2 separate regions of the Homo sapiens genome follow, and region 1 is linked to region 2. Evidence: promoter capture Hi-C in 16 types of primary human blood cells and fetal thymus (Javierre and others, 2016). All regions are on one chromosome and are shown on one strand. The core of a region is centred on a gene start or on the middle of the fragment in contact, and the rest is flanking DNA. Distances in the headings are between cores, read along the strand shown.

The links. The method cuts DNA at HindIII sites, captures the fragments that hold promoters and counts their contacts. A CHiCAGO score of 5 or more calls a contact.
Region 1: a fragment that was not itself captured here is called in contact with the fragment with the promoter of KMT2D in region 2 in 3 of 17 cell types (endothelial precursors, M1 macrophages and M0 macrophages); the score reaches 6.1 in endothelial precursors.

What each region holds. Positions count from the first base shown.
Region 1 is chr12:49,024,561-49,028,141 of GRCh38, forward strand. It overlaps KMT2D (lysine methyltransferase 2D), which reads right to left. Exons shown (of 55, transcript NM_003482.4): 47 at 3,449-3,581; 48 at 3,243-3,370; 49 at 1,622-2,762; 50 at 250-386; 51 at 18-148. Among named protein-coding and RNA genes, the nearest start is that of PRKAG1, 7.6 kb to the left of the region's middle. The HindIII fragment of the contact is 8,267 bases long and covers 1-3,581 here.
Region 2 is chr12:49,058,905-49,062,747 of GRCh38, forward strand. It overlaps KMT2D (lysine methyltransferase 2D), which reads right to left and starts at 1,890. Exons shown (of 55, transcript NM_003482.4): 1 at 709-1,890. RefSeq lists silencers at 582-876, 1,038-1,657 and an enhancer at 1,708-1,957. The HindIII fragment of the contact is 17,382 bases long and covers 1-3,843 here.

The sequences.
Region 1 (3,581 bases), core at 97-2,596, 35 kb before region 2:
CAGCATCACAAGCTCACCGTTTGTAGTGTGTGAGGATTTTAGGCTCTGATCGGGCACAGCCAGTGGGGTTGATCATGAGTGGCAGCTCCATAAGGGGGTGGCGCCCATAGCGGAATAAATAGTTTTGACAGCTCTCCACCCCGGGCAGCTGTGGGCACAGTTCATACTCACCTTAGCCTGAGTTTTTTTGGGGTTAGGCCAAAGTTCTCAGTGCCCGCCAAGCCCCCCAGCTCCCAGCCCCTTCCTTACTGATTCAGCTATGCGAAGCACGGCATGCACCGTCAGCCCAAAGAGCTCCTCGCCCTTCAGATACTCAGGGAAGAGTCGCAGCATGTCAGCCTCTTTTCTCATGGCAGCCACAGGCTCAATGATGCGATTCCACACGGCTAAGAAGCAGGGAAGAGAGCAGTCCTCAGAGGCAACTTCTGCTCACTGACCTCCAGTCCCTAACCCCAATCCAGAACTGCAGTTTTCTGAGGCCTTCAAGCCTCCCTATCATGAAGTTGTGTTGGTCTTCCAGATCCTCTCTTGGCCTCCTAGTCTCACTCTCTCTTAAGAAGCAGGAGGTTTCCAACCCCAAGGGGTCATCACAGAGCCTTGAGATACAAACCCAGGGCCCAGGAGACCCAGCATAGGCCATGGAAGGTCCCTAGTGAAAGAGCAGGCATGCTTTGGAGTTGGAAAGACTTGGGTTCAGGTTCTAGTACTGGTCATGAGACCTTGAGCCAAATACAGTCACGTGCAGCTTAACAACATTTCATTCAATGAGGAATCATATATACAACAGTGGTCTGGTAAGATTATAATACTGTACTGTATTTTTACTGTATCTTTTCTATGTCTAGATGCACATACTTACCGTATGTTACAACTGCCTACAGTATTCAGTACAGTTACATGCTGTACAGATTTGTAGCCTAGGAGCAATGGGGTATACCGCAGAGCCTAGGTGTGTAGTATGCTATGCCATCTAGGTTTGTGTAGTACACTCTATGAAGTTCACACAATGACAAAATCACCTAACAATGCATTTCTCAGAATGTATCCCTGTCATTTAGCAATGCACGACTGTACTGAAATCTGAGACTCAGTTTCTTTATGAACAAACTGGGCATAATCGTAGTATAATACTTACCTCATAGGGTTGTATGAACAAAATAAACTACACAAATCACTTAGCTTAGTTTGTGGCTCACAGTACACACTCAAAAAAAGGTACCTGCTCTTACTGTTATTTTATCATTAACACTAAAACTAAAATCAAAATAATTCTGATTTCGTCCAGGGAAAAACAACCCCAAGGAACTTGGTTAGGATTAGGTTGGGTGAGGCAGATGATAGTCTCAGAACTGTTTCCTTTTGTTCCACTGGGGATAGCAACAGAACTAGAATATGTGAGATTAGACCAGCAAAATATTTTCAACTACAAGGGAATTTAGGGTGACAAGAGAGGCTCAAACACTTTCACTGGGAGTTTTCAAGAGACCCCCTGCCTGCCTGAGGTGGGGGAAGGAGGATCATTCACATAGAAGCTACAGGTCCTCTTATAGACATTGTAACAGTGACCCTGGGAGAAACTTTTCCCATTCCATATTATCCATTTCAAGGGCCCACTGCTCACCCTGGGGAGAGGCGTCAGTGAAGACCAGGTCCTCCAGGCCCTGCTCGATGACTTTGATTACAAACTCCGGCCGCCCGTTGTTCTCACCAATAGAACAGCGATAGCAGCAGCGACGATTGTTGGTGCGGAGGCTCCAATAGATGCGCGTGGCCTCGTAGCCCACGGGATAGAGGGCAGTGGCACTATGAAAGTCAGCCATCTGGTGAGGCAGCAGCTGTCCGATGGCGTGGAACACAAGGCCCCCCACACGGAACATGTGCAGCCGTTCTCCCCGCTGAATGATGCTAGCGATTTGCTTCACCTCGTCCCGCTCAATGTAGACCCGCCGGAAGACAGCAAAAGAGCTCAGCTCTTGCTCACAGGGCCCCTTGATCTTATGCATTGGACACAGCATGGTCTTGTCCTTGAAGAACATGCACTTGGCACGGATGGCACAAGCAAAATGGTAGACATTGGGGCAACGCATGCGATTGCAGCTGCTGGTGGCACCAGTTCGCTGGCACAGGGAGCACTTGGTTAGCAGTCCTCGGTGCAGGGCAACCTCCACATTCATCAGTGCCCCGCCCTGGGTCTCATACACCTCCGTGGACCAAAGGGCACAGTTGAGGTGCACCCACAGGTCCAGGTCCAGGTTCAGCAGACGGGCAGGCCCATCAGTGGCCCCGTCACCCTCCTCATGACAGAAACAGCAGCGACGCATGTCTCGCGGTACCTTGTCAGGTCGCAAGGCTGTGCCAAGCTGCTCCATAAACTCTGCCACTTCCCGCTCATCCTCCTGCCGCCCACTGCCCTTCTGGATGGTCAGCAGCAGCCGAAGCCGCTTCCAGCGCACTCCTTTCCATTTCTTGAGGCGAGGAGGACGGGAATCTTCACCTTCTTCAGGGGGCCGGGCACGGGGCTTGGGTCGGGCTGATTCAGGGGATGAGGCCAGTGGCAGAGGTGAGGGGACGGGTGGCTCAGCCAAGGGTTCGGTGGGAAGTTCAACCAAGGGCTCAGTAGGGGGACTGGCAGGAGAAGGTGCCAAGGGGGAAGGGGGCGGGGAGGGTTCTTCAGGAGGTGGGGCCGAGAGCTGTCGCACATCCAGATTGGAGACATTGTAGGTATAGCTGTGCTGAGTGGGTGGCTCTGGGGCGGGGCTCTCCTGTAGGAGGGTGCCCTGTATCATTAGTGCCAGCTCCTCATCTAACTAGCTCCCTCCTTCCCCTCACCCATATGCCACCCTCCCAAAAGGCCTCCACATTCTTTGCCCTAGACAGCCTCTTTTTTCTTTTCTTTTCTTTTTTTTTTGAGACACAGTCTTGCTCTGTTGCCCAGGCTGGATCCAGTGGCACAATCTTGGCTCACTGCAACCTCTGCCTCCTGGGTTCAAGGGATTCTCATGCCTCAGCCTTTCGAGTAGCTGGGATTACAGGCACGCACCATCACGCCTGGCTACTGTTTTGTTTTTGTTTTTAGTAGAGACGGGGTTTCGCCATGTTGGCCAGGCTGGTCTCAAACTCCTGGCCTAAAGTGATTCACTCGCCTTGCCTCCCAAAGCACTGGGATTACAGATGTGAGCCACCGCGCCTGGCCGGCAGCCCCTTTTTTCTAACACCCACCCCTTTTTCTCCCCCAGACCTACCTGTTTCAGGAGGCTCAAGATGTCTAGTTGGCTCTTCAGGGTATAGCCAGGCAACACTGCATCAAACTGCTTCAGCCAATCAGGGCCAGTGTCTGGGCTCTTGCCTTCCAGACCCTTTTCCTTCCCACCTGCAGAAAGGAGTGGATCAGAGCCTCCCACCAGAATCACTCCCCTCAAGTCCCAAAGGGCTTCCCTGCCACACTCACCAGGACCCTCAGCTTCCCCCTTCTTTGGCTCAGTGCCTGCCCGGGCGGGGCTCTCTGGGAACAGCACCTCATAGGAGTTGGGGATCTTCATGCTCAGCAGCTCCGCCACTGCCACCATCACGCCATTCAGGTT
Region 2 (3,843 bases), core at 640-3,139:
TCCCAAGAGGAGGGGAGGCAAAGCAGGCTAAGACAGCACTCGGCCTCACTGGGGTCACTTTGCCAGGCAGGGGCAGTTTAAAGTTGAACAGCAGGGCCAGAACTGCCCCAGCCCCGCCTCCTTCTTGCCCCAGCTACCCCCTTCATCACAACTAGTCAGTTTCCACACACTCTCCCTTTGCCCAGTGAAAGAAGGCCTGGTGAAGGATCTGGGGTTCCTTGAGTTTTCCAGGGACTGCTTTGGGTGCCCAACTCGGTAGGAACAACCTTAAAGTCCAACTGGCATAAGTCTGACCTGGCAGTGACACCCTCCCCCACCATCCCAAGTTGCTCTGTCCCAAGGCCCACAAGGAACCCTGAGGGGAGAAGCAGCAGCCTGGGATTGGTGCTGGCATCAGGGCCCGGGTCCTAGTTTAGTCGAGCTCCCCCAACACAAAAATAAACAGGCAGAGAGGCTATCTGGCCAGGTTCCCAAACTCCCGTGGTTCCCTGAACCCCCAGTCTTTAAAGAGGCACACCCCAAGACACCAGGCCTCAGTTCTGCCCTGGTGACTGGCTCAGGTTCCCTTGACAGACCCTGCCAAAGGAACGCTCCCCAGCTCTGGCACCCCCTTCTCCAACCTAAAGGCCAGCTCCGGCTAAGATAGTCCATCTGGCTGTGCCCCCAGTCCAACCCTTTCTGGGCCCTGGCCGGGCGGACTTCACTCACCTCTTCACAGGGCGATCCAGAAATCCTCATCCGAGAACATGGCCAGAGCCCGGGCCGCTCCCCGACCTCCAACCGCCAGAGCGATCACAGCCGCCCCCCGCACGGGGGGGCTTAGGGGGGCCAAGAACGGTAAATCCAGGTCGGAGTGGCCACCCTCCCCCCACAAAAAAACAGCAAGAAGCCAAAGAGGGGTTCTCTGCCTCAGGTTCCAGCAGTTTAGGTTTCCATGGACAGCCCCAGGGCGGCGAATCCCGAGCGGACACAAAGAGAGCACCGGTGGCTTTGATCTTGGGCGAGCAGGCTCCGCATCCGCGTCGCCGGGCGGCCTCTCAGTCCTAGGGCCCGGCCAGCGCCCCGGCCGCCCGCGCCGGGCTCGGGCGGAACGTCGAGGCTCTCCAGATGGAACGTCGAGGCGCCTCCCCAGCAGCCCGGAAGGAATGCCGCGCCGCCCCGCGCCTGGCCCGGATGGAACGTGAGACCCTCGCAGGAGCGCCGAGCCCCTCTCCCCGCCCCGGCCGGCGCCCGGGGCCGCGCGAGCTACGGCGACGCGGGGCCGGCGGGGCCGCGGGGCTGAACCTGACACACACCCAGCGCCGGGCTTCTCGACCCCGAGCGCTCACCCTCGGCGGCTTCGAGCCCCCCACCTTCTGCTCCCCCCGGGGAAGGGAGGAGGCTAGGTAGGCGAGGAAAAGGAAGGGGCGGGCGGTGCGAGCCCTCTGCCCGCTCCCCTCCGGCCGCTCCAGGCCCTGCGCTCGCCTCCCTTCCCCTCTGGCCTCGGGAGCTGCCCCGCCCCCGGCCTGGCCGGCTCTGGTCGGTGGCACCCCCTCGACCCCCGGCTGACTGTGATCGCAGGCGGCCTAGAGGTGCATGGCCCAACCCCGGCTCCCGGCACCGGGGGGTCAGGAAACTGAGCGGAAAGTGGGGAACGAGGCAGCCATTTGCAACCGGAGAGGAAAGTAGTGCAGCGCGGCGCCGCTCCGCCTCCCCCCCTCCGCCTCCTGTTCGGCCGGTAGGGTGGTTCCTGCGAAGGGGCTATTTCCTGGCCCAAGAGCTGGGCAGCGGTCGTGAAGATTCGTGAAGCCTTCGGCGCTAGATCCGGGGGGGCCTTTTGCCCGGGGCACCCCACTCGAGAGGGGGAGAAAGGAGAAGAGGCGGCCCTATTTTGTGTTGGAGCGGAGCGGCGGAGGGATCCCGCCCTCTCGGAGGAAAGGCTGTGACTCTGCAGTTCTACGCACACGCTGCGGGATCCTTCCGCTCCGGGTTAACCCCGACCGCGCCGGGCCGGCAGCAGGGCAGACACGTGGGAACGAAGCCCCCCTCCTCTCCGCCGCGGCCCTGGAGCCGCCTCATTTACCGCCCAGGCCGCGAAACTAGGACTCTGGCCGCTGTCTAATTCCATACCCTTGCAGTCGTTGGTCCCTGAAGTTCCAACTGCCCCTTGCTTTGGCCAGGGGCAGTCTTTCCCGGGAGGGGGATGGAAGAAGAGCCAGGAGATTGGCCGCTGCTCAGCATCCTGGGAACTGGAGTCCGCAAATGGAGAAAGTGAGGTACGGCGCCTGGCGCTGCAGAGGGTGGACTCTTGCCACGTTTGGGGACCCGAAGAAAACTGGACGAGTCCCTAGTCGTTCCTCCTGACTCCCAGTCCCCCGTGTGAGGAAGGACTGTCGGTGCCCACACAGTCACTATACACACCTCCCCATCGAAACATAAAGGTAGAGCCTCCCTTTTCAGGGTGCCCCCACTCCCACCTCCAGTCCTTCCAGATATTCAGTACCCGTGTCCCTTTTTTAGTAAACTGAGGTAGCCTCGCTGCTACCTGGCCGGAGTACTGTCCTGGACAAGATCGCAAAACATACTCTTTGCAGGCACCACCCCCCCACCATAAGTCTGGATGAGAAAACATTGGAATGCCTCTTCTGCATCAACGCACACATGGGGTGGACAAAAGGAGACAAATTAACTATGTCCAGATACTTTATATATTCTTAGTTATTCCTCGCCTTCATTATGAGTTACATGGAATTATCTCCATATTACAGATGAAGATTAAGGCTACAATAGGTAAAATTGCCCACAGAACTACATCTAGTGAGAAGTTGAGCCATTATTCAAACCAAAGGCCACGTTTTTCCTAGGATTACAAATAATTATACTACGTTTTTTTAAAAGAAGATGTGGAGAAAGAGGCAGGCAGATTCGATCCAATGCCAGCTTTGTGAGGAAAGGGTTTACGATGCTGTCCAAGAGAACTTTTTTTATTTTTTGAGACAGAGTCTCGCACTGTCGTCCGGGTTGGAGTTCAGTGGTGCGATCTCGGCTCACTGCAACCTCCGCCTCCCTGGTTCACGCGATTCTCCTGCCTCAGCCTCCCTAGTAGCCGGGATTACAGGCGCACACCACCAGACCCGGCTACTTTTTTGTATTTTTAGTAGAGACAGGGTTTCACTATGTTGGCCAGCCTGGTCTCGAACTCCTGACCTCGTGATCCGCTCGCCCTGGTCTCCCAAAGTACTGGGATTACAGGCATGCGCCACCGCGCCCGGTCCCAACAGAACTTTTCTACAGTGATGGAAATGGACTAAATCTACACTATCTAATATGGTAGCCATCAACCACATGCAGCTCTCGAGCACTTTGAAATGCAGGTGGTACAAGTAAGGAACTTTTTATTTTAATGAAATTAAATAGCCACATGTGAGGTGATGCTTTTATATTAGACAGTGCAGGAGACCTTAATCCCTACTGGTAAGAGTAATAGGAGGGATCAGGACTAGGTTTGTCCTCTTCCAGCCACACATTGGCATCATGTTTTCTGCACTGACCATTCACACATATTTGAGCAAAAAAAACTCCAGCAGTGATCCCACACTTGTTTTAATTACAATAGAATAAGTTAACCAAGAAACAAGTTGGAAAATGGAAGGCCCCTCCCAGGTTTGCACCCAGAGGCAGGGAGAGGTAGACCCTCACCAGAAAGACCTCCAGTAATAACACAGATAGCCACCTACTATTTTGGTTTTTTTTTTTTTTTTTTTGAGATGGAGTTTCGCTCTTGTCGCCCAGGGTGGAGTGAAATGGCGCGATCTCGGCTCACTGCAACCTCCGCCTCCCAGGTTCAAGCGATTATCCTGCCTC